Regions from separate parts of the Homo sapiens genome. Here region 2 is linked to region 1. Evidence: promoter capture Hi-C in 16 types of primary human blood cells and fetal thymus (Javierre and others, 2016). All regions are on one chromosome and are shown on one strand. The core of a region is centred on a gene start or on the middle of the fragment in contact, and the rest is flanking DNA. Distances in the headings are between cores, read along the strand shown.

Region 1 (7,497 bases), core at 164-2,663:
GCATAGTCCAATCAGGGATTAACCATATGGACAGGCACCTTCCTGGACTCCAAAGTAAGAAGTGTGCTGTGGTGTGTGTGTGTGTGTGTGTGTGTGTGTGTGTGTGTGTGTGTGTTGGGAGACTGAGCTCACCTTAGAAAGGGATTTCCAGGAGGACCTAGTCTAGGGTCTCTCAGATCAGGGAAGCCCCATCTCCAACACTTGAGAAGCTACGCCATCCCCTGACTCCCGAAGCGCCCCCCACTCTGAACCCTGAGGGGCGGGACAGGGCGCCCAGCCAGATGCGCGCAGCTGGGCGTGCGTCAGCGCTGACTCACCCATCCGGCGGCCCCCGGGACCCCTTGGGGGCTCCTGAGAAATTCCTCGGGAAAAACACCCAAGGCTCCAGCAGCTGGGGTGGGGAGGGGGGGAGCAACTTCCACTCCTGCCCCGCCCTGCGCCCCGCCCCGTCTCGCCCCTCACCGCGGCCCTCCCCGAAGCCCTGTCCATGGTGCTGATCGCGGCTCTGGGGACCGCGGGGTGGGGGAGGGGGCAACAGGGAGGGAGGGGAGGAGATGGGCGCTCGCCAATTTGGGGCAGAGGAGGAAAAGGGAGAATGAGGTGAAGCCATTTAAAGAGACGCAAAGGAAACTGTGGGTTCCCGAAGAGCACCCCCCAATACTTGTCCCCACCCACCTTCATCCTCATGGGCAATTATTTGCACCCAAAAATCATAACTACACCCCTCATAGCGGCACTCAGAGACACACAATCACACGCATAACCACTCACACGGTTACCCTCGAAAATCAGCACATAGACAAGAGCACAAGTGCATACTCACCTGTCGCAATACACACCGTCCCAGCACTGCCCTGTCACTCACAGTCACACTATCACCATCAACCTCCACACGCAAGCACATACGCAACTTCACTCCAAATGCACACACATGCTACACACACATACACACATGCACACACCTGCACATTGCATGCATTCCCACGCGCTCGCCAGAAAACGCACTCACACATCCCCACCCCCACCCCGAGCTGTCACACCCACAAATCACCCAGAGTCAGATACTCATGCGCCCACATCACACCGGGGCCGCACGCGGCGCCCACGCCCTTCCCCTCCACGCCCCTCCACCCCCCTCCACCCCTCGCTCTTTTAGAGCCTCTCTGAGTCGTGGACCCTGGGTCCCATCTCTTCCCTCCCGGCTCACCGGCCTGCGTCCCCGGCAGAAGCTGCAGCGCGGCCAGGAGCAGGCAGAGACCGGCCCGCGGCTGGCCCAGGTCCCGGCGGTTCCCCATCCCGGCGGGGCCCACGGGCAAGGCGGGGAACCAGTCGGGGCGGCTGCGGGGCGCGGCGACTTCTCGGGCTCGGTGCAGTCACTCGCGGCGGCCGCTCCTCTCAGGGTCCGCGGGAAACTGCCCGAGACCCCGCCCTGGCCTCGCCCTGCGCTCCAGCGCCTGGCCAGGCGGGGCTTTTTGGAGGGGGAGCGCTGACAGCTGGACTGGGAAGTTGGGAAACTTTGTGCTGAGGGCTGATTGGCTGGCTGGGGTGGAGCCCAGCGCCAGGAGCTGGGTTGTTCCTGCCCCACCCCACTGTGGAGGAGAAGGGTCACTCCCACCCAGCCCTAGAGTTCGAGGGTTCCAGTCTTACCCCAAACCTTTTCCGCCTAGCAGATCCCCTCAAAGGAGACCTTAACCTCATTCAAGACTTCAGCCTCCATCCAGGCCCTAGAATTAGGAGGAGGTGCAGCTTTATACCAAATCTTTTTTATTTTCTATTATTTTTACATTTTATTTTGGAGACAGGGTCTTGATCTGTCACCCAAGCTGGAGTGCAGTGGTGCAATCATAGCTCACTGCAGCCTCCAACTCCTGCGTTCAAGCCATCCACCTGCCTCAGCCTCCTGAGAAGCAGGTACCACAGGCACACACTGCCACACCCAGCTAATTTTAAAATATGTATATTTTGTAGAGACCGGGATCTTGCTATGCTGCCCAGGCCGGTCTTGAACTTCTGGTCTCAAGCGATCCTCCGGCCTTGCCCTCCCAAAGCGCTGGAGTTACAGGCATGAGCCACCGCCCCTGGCACCAAGTCCTTTCTGCCTCACTCAGGCCCCCAACTGGGGTCCCAACCTCACCCCGAACTCTCACTCACCTACCTGCTTTATCCTCAGTCCCTCAGCTGCACAATAGGAGGTACCAGCCTCAGCCCCAAAGCCTTTCCTTCAAGTCCCTAACGGGTCCTCATCCCACCTCAAATCTCACCCCAGATCCCAAAATGGGGTCCCCAGCCTTACTCCAAACCTTCATCTGTCCACTCAAATCCCTAAGTCACGTGTCCTGGTCCCAAATTCTCACCACAGATCCCAAAACACAGTTTTCACTTTCCCCAAATTCTTGATTCCTCAAATAAAGGGTCTCATCTCCATCCCTAACCCTCATCTCCCCCCGCCCCAACTCAGGTCTCCAGTGGATGCCCCGGCCTCAATCCCAAATCCCCACCAAATGAGGGAGTCTGAGCTGGGTGCGGTGGCTCATGCCTGTAATCCCAGCATTTTGAGAGGCTGGGGCGGGCAGATCGCTTGAGTCCAGGAGTTAGAGATCAGCTGGCCAACATGGCGAAACCCCATCTCTACTAAAAATACAAAAATTAGCCAGGCATTGTGACTGGCGCCTGTAGTCCCAGCTACTTGGGAGGCTGAGGTGGGAGGATCACTTGAACACGGGAGGTGGAGGTTGCAGTGAGCTGAGGTTGTGCCACTGCGATCCAGCCTGGACAACAGAGCAAGACTCTGTCTGTCTCAAAAAAAAAGGCCGGCGCGTTGGTGGGAGGTGGTGGGAATCTGTCCCTGTCGCAAAGCAACGCACAGCCACTGGGGAGGAAGGGGTGGATTCTTGCCATTCTTGGGATGAGGCAGAGGCCCCCCTCACCGTGCTGGGACCCCCACCTCCAGCATGAAGAGGCCCCCATGAGGTCAAATAGAGCTTTTATGCAATTGGACAAGCGCAGACACGCAGGATGTGAGGGTGTTTCCCCAGGGAGGGGAGGAACCAAGAGGCGTATTCTGAGCCCTGAACTGCTCCCCGAACCCTGCTTCCCCCACCTCCGCCCCAGGGGAAGAGGGAGACGCAAGCAGTGCCTCCCTCCCAGCCTCTGACTCCCCAGACAAAGAGTCTCTGTGTCCCTGAAGAGGAGGGGTTGGGGCCCCATCAAGCCTGAGGGGGAGATGGGGGCCCCCCAGGGTGGGAGGAGGAGAGGGTATCTCTGTAAGCTGTGCCTCCTCCCACCCCAGGGACATCTGAGGCTGAGACTTCTCCAACTAAAAGACTCTCACAAAATTCCTGCCCTGCCCTGCCTTGCTGGAAGTTCTTCCTATAGTCTAACTACATCTTCTGACAGTTCTACACCCCTTCCCTCTATGAAACACTTCTGGATCCACATTCTCTGTCTCCTTCTCTCACTCTCTCCCTTCAATCAGAGATTCTTCACCCAGAATACAGACACTAATTCCCCCCAACTTTCACAGAAACTCTCCCCAGCCCTAAATAATTTATACTCGGCCAGGCTCAGTGGCTCATGCTTGTAATCCCAACACTTTGGGAGGCTGAGGCGGCTGGACCACTTGAGGTCAGGAGTTCAAGACCAGCCTGGCCAACATGGCGAAACCTCATCTCTACTAAAAATACAAAAATTAGCTGGGTGTGGTGGCACACGCCTGTAATCCCAGCTACTCAGGAGGCTGAGGCAGGAGAATCATTTTACCCTGGAAAGCTGAGGTTGTAGTGAGCCGAAATTGCACCACTGCACTCCAGCCTGGGTGACAAGAGCAAGACTCTGTCTCAAAATAATAATAATAATTTACAGTCATAATAAAAATTATAAATTAAGAAAACAGTTACAAATGGCCAAGGCAGGAGGATCACTTGAGGCCAAGAGTTCGAGACCAATCTGGGCAACATAGCAAGATCCCATGTCTAAAAGAAAAAGAAATTTAAAAATTAGCTGGGCATGGTAGTGTGCGCCGGTAGCCCCAGCTACTCTGGAGGCTGAGATAGGAGGATCGCTTGAGGCTGTGGTGAGCTATGATGGTGCCACTGCACTCCAGCCTGAGTGACAGAGCAAGATGCTGTCTCTTAAAAACAAACAAACAAAAACCAGTGATGTCTATAGTAGGTGCGGAGAAGAAATGTTTGGCAGATGAAGAAAATGAGGTGCAGAGAGGATTTAAGAGATTCTCTCTTACTGCCTGTTCAGGGTCAGTCCAGAATTGAGGGTCTCCGGGGGAGGGCAGAGGCTTTGCCCTGCAGGGGATCTGTGGGAGGGGGTTAGGAGGGAGCAGATGAGCCCAGGATGAATGGTCAGAGTCAGGTGCTGCCCGGCGGAGGTCACGAGTCCAGGGAGGGGATCAACATGGCCGCTGCACCCCGGACTGTGTTGATCTCCGGCTGCTCATCAGGAATTGGTCTGGAACTTGCAGTGCAACTGGCCCATGACCCCAAGAAGCGCTACCAGGGTAAGAAGTGCAGGGTGGCACTAGGAGGCAGCCGGGTGGAAACGGCTTCCCCAGCACTGTCTCCCCTACCCATCCCTCCCAGCTGCACTTGTGGGCTTGGGGAGACCCAGGATTCCCTCCAGGAATCATCCCCTCATCCTAGAAATATTTCTTGAGCATCTTCTGGGTGCTCTGAATGCTGGCAACACAACTGGAGATGAAATAGACAAAAATCTCAGCCCTCAGGACGGGTGTCATGTGGGGAGGAGAGGGAGAATGGGTGATAAACAGATAAAAAGAAATTGTTGCTCTATCTGGTGGGAATAAGTGCTGAGACACAAAATAAAGCATGCTGAGAGTGGCAGGGGGTGGGTGGGGGTTATTTTTAGAAGGGTTTCACTAGGGCATTTCCTAGATTGGAATAATCACTACCCTGATGCTCACTCTTCCACGTCTCCCCAGATTATTGCTTTTACTGAGATAAGCTTCTTAAGTGCTCCTGACCTTGGGGGTTGAAGGGATGGCCTTCTAGTTCTAAGAACTTGCCCTTCTGCACCTCTAGAATAAATCCCTGGGACCTGCATCCTAACCAACCAGGAGAACCCCTGACCCAGAGGGAGCATGCTGGAGTCAAAGTGGGCAAAGGGTTGTTACTTACAAAGAGGCGACTGGGGGTGAGGGCATTGCCCCAGTTGGCAGGGCTGCTTCTCCCAGCCCTCTGCCCTCTGTTTTAGAGACGCACACAGCTTTGAGCATGACAGCCTGAATGCCAGTGTGCAGGGAATAACGTGTGTCCCTATGGGCGGGCAGATGGGTGTATGAAACTGCTGGAGGCTAATGTTTATGGAGCTTTTACAATGCACCAAGCTGCATTCTAAGTGCCCTGAATCCAGGAAGTCATTTAATCCTCACATCACACCCGTGAGGCAGGCACAATCATTCACCCCATTTTATTATTATTTTATTATTTATTTATTTTGAGTCAGAGTCTTGCTCTGTCACCCAGGCTGAGTGCAGTGGTGCATCTTGGCTCACTGCAGCCTCCACTTCCCACGTTCAAGTGATTTTCATGCCTTGACCTCCCGAGTTTCTGGGATTAAGGCATGCACCACCACACCCGGCTAAGTTTTTGTATTTTTAATAGACAAGGTTTCACCATGTTGGCCAGACCGGTCTCGAACTCCTGGTCTCAGGTGATCTGCCTGCCTGGGCCTCCCAAAGTGCTGGGATTACAGGCATGAGCCACCGTGCCTGGCCTGCCCTATTTTAGAAATGAGGAAACTAAGGTGCAGACTGTGAAAGGTCTTTGCTCAAGGTCTCCCAGCTGCAAAGTAGCAGAGCTGGGATTTGAACTCAGGCAGCCCATCCCTTGCACCCATGTTTCCCACTATATCACATGTAGATGCAAGTGACCCCATTCACGTGCCTGCTACCCACAAATCACACTGACCCGAAGACAAGAGGCAAATGCCCCCAGGAGTGTTCATGGGTGATTATGGGTGCACACATTGGGGGATATCAAACACGTATGCTGGTGCATGTGCAGACATAGTACATATGCTGAGGTCCTGCTTAAGAACATAAGCTTGAGGCTGGGCACAGTGGCTCATGCCTGTAATCTCAGCACTTTGGGAGGCCTAGGTGGACAGATCACCTGAGATCAGGAGTTTGAGACCAGCCTGGCCAACATGGTGAAACCCCGTCTCTACTAAAAATACAAAAAATTAGCCAGGCGTGGTGGTGGATGCCTGTAGTCCCAGCTATTCGGGAGGCTGAGGCAGAAGAATGGCGTGAACCTGTGGGGTGGAGCTTGCAGTGAGTCGAGATCATGCCACTGCACTCCAGCCTAAGCGACAGAGCATGACTCTGTCTCAATAAATAAATAAATAAATATACAAAAATTAGCCAGGCATGGTGGCAGTGCCTATAATCCCAGCTACTTGAGAGGCTAAGGCAGGAGAATTGCTTGAACCGGGAGACAGAGGTTGCAGTGAGCTGAGATTTCACCACTGTATTCCAGCCTGGGCACCAAGAGCGAGACTCCGTCTCAAAAAAAAAAAAAAGGGCATAAAAGCTTGGCCAGGTGCTGTGGCTCTCTGGCTCCTCACGCCTGTAATCCCAGCACTTTGGGAGGATGAGGTGGGCAGATCACCTGAGGTTCGAGACCAGGCTGACCAATATGGTGAAACCCCGTCTCTACTAAAAATACAAAAGATTAGCCAGGTGTGGTGGCAGGCACCTGTACCCCTGTAATCCCAGCTACTCGGGAGGCTGAGGCAGGGGAATTGCTTGAACCCAGGAGGTGGAGGTTGCAGTGAGCCGAGATTGCACCCCTGTACTCCAGACTGGGCAACAAACAAGAGTGAAACTTCGTCTCAAAAAAAAAATATATATATATATATGGCTATTCACTTCAGTGTTCATATATGCACATATGTTGGCTATAGTTGTGTATGCATTTTTTTCATGGCAATCTGTTTTATGTTTATATATTTTATTGTCTTACCTACTAGGCTATAAATTCCATGAAGGCAGAAACTTTATCTTATTTATTTATTTATTTATTTATTTATTTATTTATTTATTTTGAGACAGTCTCGCTCTGTTGCCAGGCTGGAGTGCAGTGGCGCTATCTCGGCTCACTGCAAGCTCCGCCTCCCGGGTTCACGCCATTCTCCTGCCTCAGCCTCCCAAGTAGCTGGGACTACAGGCGCCTGCCACCACGCCAGGCTAATTTTTTTTTTTTTTTGTATTTTTAGTAGAGACGGGGTTTCACCATGTTAGCCAGGATGGTCTCGATCTCCTGACCTCGTGATCTGCCCACCTCGGCCTCCCAAAGTGCTGGGATTACAGGCGTGAGCCACCGCGCCAGGCCGCCCGGCCTTATTTTTTATTTTTTGAGACAGGGTCTCACTCTCTCACCCAGACGGTAGTGCAGTGGCTCCATCTCGGCTCACTGCAGCCTCAACCTCCTGGGCTCAAGCAATCCTCCCACCACAGCCTCCCAA
Region 2 (7,474 bases), core at 1,513-4,012, 84 kb before region 1:
ACTGCATTTCAGCCTGGGCAACAGAGCAATAACCTCGTCTCTACAAAAAAAAAAAAAAAAAAAAAAAAAGCCCGGGCGCAGTGGCTCACACCTGTAATCCCAGCACTTTGGGAGGCCAAGGCAGGCAGATCACGAGGTCAGGAGATCGAGACCATCCTAACACGGTGAAACCCCGTCTCTACAAAAATACAAAAAAATTACCTGGGCGTGGTGGCGGGCGCCTGTAGTCCCAGCTATTCGGGAAGCTGAGGTAGGAGAATGGCGTGAACCCGGGAGGCGGAGCTTGCAGTGAGCCAAGATCACACCACTGCACTCCAGCCTGGGCGACAGAGCGAGACTCTGTCTCCAAAAAAAAAAAAAAAAAAAAAAAAAAATTGTTTTTGAAATGGAGGTCTCGCTCTGTCGCCCAGGCTGGTCTCGAACTCCTGGGCTGAAGCCATCCTTCCGCCTTGGCCACCCAAAGCACTGGGATTATGGGCGTGAGCCATTGCTCCCGGCCTGACAACATACTCAGTCACCCAACCCTGTTGAGGTCTAATAAGGAGACACTCTGCTTTCTTCCTCCAGCTCTGATACTACATGCAAGTGTCTTTTTTATGGTCCATTTAGTGCCAAGCTTTTCATATTTTTGTGCTGTTTGTTGGTGACTCTGCTATCTTCAGTGGCCCCCACGCACCGTGCTGAAGTGTAGTCTAGTGTTTCTAAGTCAAGAAGGCCGTGACGTGTGTCACGGAGAAAAGACGTGTTACAGAAGCTTCATTCAGGCATCAGATCTAGTGCTATTGGCCGGGAGTTCAATGTTAATGAATCAAAAAATAAATATATATGTGATATATATATATATATGCGTGTATATATATAGATATGATTGATATATATATATGATATTCTAAAACAGAAACACACATAAAACAAAGTTATGGCTGGGCGCCGTGGCTCATGCCTGTAATCCCAGCACTTTGGGAGGCTGAGGCAGGCAGATCGTTTGAGCCCAGGAGTTGGAGACCAGCCTGGGCAACATGGTGAAATCCTAGCTCTACAAAAAATTAGCCAGGCCTGGCGGTGCATAGTCCCAGCTACTCAGCGTGTTGGGAGGCTGAGGTGGGAGAATGGCTTGAGTCCGGAAGGCGGAGGCTGCAGTGAGCCTAGATCACACCACCGCACTCTAGCCTGGGGGACAGAGTGAGACCCTGTCTAAACAAAACAAAACAAAAAAAGTTATATATTATTCAGTTGACAAAAACGTTGTGGTCAGAGGCTTTTGACAAAAATAGCAAGTGTTGGTGAGGATGTGGAAAAATAGGAACCCTTTGTGGGAATGTAAAATAGCGCAGTCGCCGTAGAAAACATTATCGTAGTTCTTCAAAAACTTAAAACATAGTTACCATATGACCCAGCAATACTTTTTCTTTTTTGAGACAGGATCTTACCCTGTCACCCAGGCAATGGTACAATCATGGCGCACTGCAGCCTTGACCTCCTGGGCTCAAGTAATCCTCCCACCTCAGCCTCCCAAGTAGCTGGGACCACAGGCACAGCTAATTTTTGTATTTGTTGTAGAGACACGGTTTCACCATGTTGCTGAGGTTGGTCTCAAACTCCTGGGCTCAAGCAATCCACCCACCTCAGCCTCCCAATTGCTGGGATTACAGGTGTGAGCCACCGCGCCTGGCCCAGCAATGCCACTTCTGAATACGTACACAAAAGAATTGAACTCAGTGTCTCAAAAAGATATTGGTACACCCGTGATCATAGCAGTATTATTCAAAAAAGCCCAAAGGTGAAAACAACCAGGCCGGGCGCGGTGGCTCACACCTGTAATCCTAGCACTTTGGAAGGCTGAGGTGAGAGGATTGCTTCAGGCCAGGAGTTGAAGACCAGCTTGAGCAAGATGACAAGACCCCATCTCTACAGAAAAAATTTAAGAATTAGCCAGCCGTGGTGGCATGCACCTGTAGTCCCAGCTACTTGGGAGGCTGAGGTGGAAGGATCCCTGGAGCCCAGGAGATAGAGGTTGCAGCGAGCTGTGATGGTGCCACTGCACTCCAGCCTGAGTGATGGAGAGAGACCTCCTCTGTAACATTAAGACTTTTTTTTAAAAAAAAGCTGAAAACAACCCAGTGTCTATTTATTGATGAATGAATGGATAAACAAAATGTGGTATATCCATACATGGAATATGATTCAGCCTTTAAAAGGATGGAAATTCTAGGCCAGGCATGGTGGCTCACGCCTGTAATTCCAGCACTTTGGAAGGCTGAGGCGGGCGGATCACGAGGTCGGGAGATCGAGACCATCCTGGCTAACATGGTGAAACCCCATCTCTACTAAAAATACAAAAAATTAGCCGGGCGTGGTGGCGGCCGCCTGTAGTCCCAGCTATTCCGGAGGCTGAGATGGGAGAATCGCTTGAATCTGGGAGGCGGAGCTTGCAGTGAGCTGAGATCGCGCCACTGCACTCCAGCCTGGGACAGAGAGCGAGACTCCATCTCAAAAATAAATAAATAAATAAATAAATGACTAAAGTGATAAATTTTATATTATGTGTATTTTACCACAATTAAAAATTTTTAAAGTCTTCCATTTAAACATGCACAACCTCTTCTATGAGTCACTATTACCAGCTCACTAAATTCTAGGCCAAGTGCAGTGGCTCACGCCTGTAATCCCAGCAGTTTGGGAGGCTGAGGCAGGAAGATCTTATGAGCCCAGGAGTTCAAGACCGGCCTGGACAATATAGTGAGACCCTGTCACTACAAAAAATAAACAAAAAAAATTATGTGGGCATGGTGGCACACGCCTGTGGTCCCAGTGACTCAGGTGGCTGAGGTGGGAGGATTGCCTGAGCACAGGAGTTTGAGGCTGCAGTGAGCTGTGATCGCGTCACTGCACTCCAGCCTGGGCAACAGAGCAAGACTCTATCTCTAAAAATAAATAAATAAGGTCCAGCACGGTGGCTGACGCCTGTAATCCCAGCACTTTAGGAGGCCGAGGCAGGCAGATCACGAGGTCAGGAGTTTGAGACCAGCCTGGCCAACATGGTGAAATCCTGTCTCTACTAAAAATACAAAAATTAGCCAGGCGTGGTAGCACGCGCCTGTTAACCCAGTTCCTTGGGAGGCTGAGGTAGGAGAATTGCTTGAACCTGGGAGGGGAGGGTTGCAGTGAGCTGAGATCGCACCACTGCACTCCAGCCTGGGCGACAGAGCGAGGCTCTGTCTCGAAAAAAATATAAATAAATAAATGAATAAATAAATTCTAAAATCCTTAACCCAGCTTTCGAAGCCTTTACAGTCAGATCACAACCTTTTCAAGCTCACTTCCCTTCTCCTATCTGCACCCACCATAGGCATCAACCACACACTTACCCTAGTTCCCATTTCCAGAAACTTCCCCTCTTTTAAACATGGTTAGAATCATGTAAAATAAGGGTAAACCCACCAGGTCTTGTCAGCATGACCAATGACTTTCTTCTGTGTCCACCCTCCAGTCTTCACTCGCTCATCCTTCAAGGCCCATCTCAAATGCCACCTCCCCCAGGAAGCCCACTTGACTCTTGACATCTGGCACTTTGTACCATGTGTCGGCTGCATCTGTCTCCCAAATTTGGCAACTGACAGCCATTCAGAGCGGACTGTGTCACGTCCCTCCTGAGTGAGTGAGTGCCTCTATCAGTGTCTTTCTCATAGAAATTACTAGAGAAATTAGGAACAGAAACAATGTGGGCCGGGTGCAGTGACTCATGCCTGTAATCCCAGCACCTTGGGAGGCTGAGGCGGATCACTTGAGGTCAGGAGTTCGAGACCAGCCTGAACAATATTGTGAAACCCTGTCTCTACTAAAAATACAAAAATTAGCTGGGCCCTGTGGCTCATGCCTGTAATCCCAGCACCTTGGGAGGCTGAGGCAAGAGGATCACTTAAGGCCAAGAGTTCAAGACCAGCCTGGGCAACATAGTGAGACCCCCATCTCTACCAAAAAAAAGAAAAAGAAAGAGAAAAATTAGCTGGATGTAGTGGTACACACCTGTAGTCCTAACTATTTGAGAGGCTAAGGTAGGAGGATCACTTGGGCCAAGGAGGTTGAGGCTACAGTGGGCTGTGGTCACACCACTCCACTCTAGCCTGGTCAACAGAGCAAGACCCTGCGTCTTAAAAAAAAAAAAACAAAATAAAATTTAAAAAGAACCCGGCTCACCATGTGCTCATCATGTATTCTTCCTGGGATTCACCAGGACTCTCTTAGAGCCTAAAAAGTGAGAAGCTATTTGCCATTTCATTTGATGGCTGAACTGGCTTTGCCTTTTTGTTTCTTTCTTCTTGTGCAATGACACCTGTCTTCTCATCTATTAAGCAAGGCTAGTTACTAGCTGCCCAGGATTGTTGGAACTATGTGTAAAGTAAGAGTAAACTGGGACCGAGAGTCTACTGGGTCCCCAGGAGCAACAAGAACAACCTTTTCCAGGCTGGATGCAGTGGCTCATGCCTGTAATCCCAGCACTGAGGGAGGCCAAGGTGGGTGGATCACTTGAGGCCAGGAGTTCAAGACCAGCCTGGGCAACATGGCAAAACCCCGTCTCTATTAAAAATACAAAAACTAGCCAGGCATGGTGGTGCACGCCTGTAGTCCCAGCTACTTGGGTGGCTGAGGCATGAGAATTGCTTGAACCCAGGAGGCAGAGGTTGCAGTGAGATGAGATCGTGCCACTGCACTCCAGACTGGGCGACAGAGTGAGACTCTGTCTAAAAAAAAAAAAAAGAGAGAAAGAGAATAAGCTTTTGTATACAGTCTTCATGGAATCTACTCTCCCTACTCTCTGCTCTTTCCTGGTGACTTCTTGGTTTGTGGCTGCACTCTGGATGGATGAAGTTGCAAGACACACTGAGGTGGTGTGCACCTGTAATCCCAACTACTTGGGAGGCTGAGGCAGGAGAATTGCTTAAGCCCAGGAGTTCGAGGCCTGCCTGGGCACCATGGCAAGACCCCATCTCAAAAAGAAAAAAAGAGATAGAATGGGCTTCCACCTTGGCAGGGAGGACATGTCAATGTTCTCAGACAAGAGTTCCCTAGATATGGGAATAAAATGTTCCTGTCATGACAAGTTTTTTCCCAACACAGCCAGACTCAACTCCTCCAGAAGTTAAATCTACTCCACCCCTTGAAAGCACAAACTACCACCCAGTGCTTGTTGCATAGTACAACGCTTGAGATACAGAAGGCTCTCAATGAATGCTCTCTAAATGAATACATGGGCCGGGCGCGGTGGCTCACACCTGTAATCCCAGCACTTTGGGAGGCTGAGGCGGGTGGATCACCTGAGGTCAGGAGTTTGAGACCAGCCTGAACAACAATATAGAGAAACCCTGTCTCTACTAAAAATGTAAACATTAGGTGGGTGTGGTGGTGTGTGCCTGTAGTCCCAGCTACTTGGGAGGCTGAGGCGGGAGAAGAGCTTGAACTCGGGAGGTGGAGGTTGCAGTGAGCCGAGATTGCACCACTTCACGCCAGCCTGGGCGACAGAGTGAGACCCCGTCTCAAAATAAAATAAAATAAAATAAAATAAAATAAATGAATACATGCATGTAGGAACAAATGAAAACAGCACATTACTGTCTCTCAGGCACTAACACTGAATCCTGGGGCTACAAAGTCATTGCCCACACCAGCCACTGGGCTCATCAGAAACCCACACATACCAGGCCAGGCGTGGTGGCTCACGCCTGTAATCCCAGCATTTTGGGAGGCTGAGGCAGGCAGATCACCTGAGGTCAGGAGTTCGAGACCAACCTGACCAACATGGAGAACCCTCGTCTCTACTAAAAATACAAAATTAGCTGGATGTGGTGGTGCATGCCCGTAATCCCAGCTACTCGGGAGGTTGAGGCAGGAGAATCACTTGAACCCAGGAGGCAGAGGTTGCGGTGAGCCGAGATCGCGCCACTGACCTCCAGCCTGGGCAACAAGAGCGAAACTCCATCTCAAAAAAAAAAAGAAAGAAAGAAAGAAATCCACACATACCATATGGTTGGCCTACATGGATACAGTCACTGGTGTGATGATGATACAAGCATGTCCCTGTGCTCATGGTCCCTGAACATGCACACAGTCACCAAACATACACATACACGCATGACACCACAGACACATGCCTATGGGGCCAAAGTTAGAGTGAGGCAAGTTATGCAAGTGCAGAGGGGGAGCCCATATTTATTTAAAAATTTGTTTTTATTCATTATAGATTTTTCTTGCATCAATTTAGATTTTTCTTAAAATGTTCCATTAAAATATTATTTATCTTGGTTACTGGTTTTTATTTTTTTGGGGGGCATACCCTTAAATTTTGTACTATAGCTGAACTCTGTACCATGTACCTGTCACCCTAGCTACTCAGGAGGCTGAGGCAGAAGAATCACTTGAGCCCAGGAGTTGGAGGCTTCAGTGAGCTATGACTGCACCACTGCACTCCAGCATGGGTGACAGAACAAGACCCCGTCTTAGAAATAGGCCCGGCACCGTGGCTCACGCCTGTAATCCCAGCACTTTGGGAGGCCAAGGCGGGCAGATCATCTGAGGTCTGGAGTTCGAGACCAGAGTGGGCAACGTGGTGAAACCCTGTCTCTATTAAAAATACAAAAAAAAAAAAATTTAGCCGGCTGTGGTGCTGTGCGCCTATAATCCCAGCTACTCGAGAGGCTGAGCAGGAGAATCGCTTGAACCCGGGAGGCAGAGATTGCAGTGAGCCGAAATCGCACCACTGCACTCCAGTGTGGACGACACAGCAAGACTCTGTTTCAAATATCATCATCATCATCATCATCAACTTTTTAAAATGTTTGCACCCGCGGCGAGTATCTCACCTGTTTTACCCTGACCTGGGCACCCCCATCCCACATACGCACGCGCCCACGCACAGGTGCACAACCACACACATTCACCCACCAGTCACACAGACGCACACAGTCCCTGCACAAACCTCACTCGACCACTAGATGTCGCTCAAGCTCCATAATCTTAAATCCAGCCCCAAGGGGCTCTTTCCTACACTAACTCGGAGTCTTTAAATTTCCTTTTACTTCCCTCCACTGGGACATTTACATGCTCTAAAGGAGCCCCAGGAGAACATCGTCTTACCCCTAAACAACAGTGCCCTATCGGTGGAATGTCAGGCACAGGTAAAGAAGATGGGTTTTCTTTCTTTCTTTTTTGTGGAGACAGGGTCTCAGTCTGTCGCCCAAGCTGGAGTGCAGTAGTGCAATGATAGCTCACTGCAGCCTCAAACTCCTGGGCTCAAGTGATCTTCACACCTCAGCCTCCTGAGTAGAACTACAAGCCTGGCCAATTTTTTTTAAAGTTACTGCAGAGGCCGGGCACGGTGGCTCACGCCTGTAATCCCAGCAGTTTAGGAGGCCGAGGCAGACAAATCAAGATGTCAGGAGTTCGAGACCAGCCTGGCCAAAATGGTGAAACCCCATCT

The links. The method cuts DNA at HindIII sites, captures the fragments that hold promoters and counts their contacts. A CHiCAGO score of 5 or more calls a contact.
Region 2: a contact is called between a fragment that was not itself captured here and the fragment with the promoter of COL5A3 in region 1, in 1 of 17 cell types (endothelial precursors). The highest score is 5.0, in endothelial precursors.

The regions. Positions count from the first base shown.
Region 1 is chr19:10,009,091-10,016,587 of GRCh38, forward strand. COL5A3 (collagen type V alpha 3 chain) reads right to left here and starts at 1,414. Exons shown (of 67, transcript NM_015719.4): 1 at 1,208-1,414. The coding sequence starts at 1,295. It overlaps RDH8 (retinol dehydrogenase 8), which reads left to right and starts at 4,393. Exons shown (of 6, transcript NM_015725.4): 1 at 4,393-4,510. The coding sequence starts at 4,408. RefSeq lists an enhancer at 5,014-5,183. The HindIII fragment of the contact is 8,603 bases long and covers 1-4,972 here.
Region 2 is chr19:9,924,060-9,931,533 of GRCh38, forward strand. All of the region lies in intron 1 of OLFM2 (olfactomedin 2), which reads right to left. Among named protein-coding and RNA genes, the nearest start is that of OLFM2, 8.7 kb to the right of the region's middle. The HindIII fragment of the contact is 4,021 bases long and covers 753-4,773 here.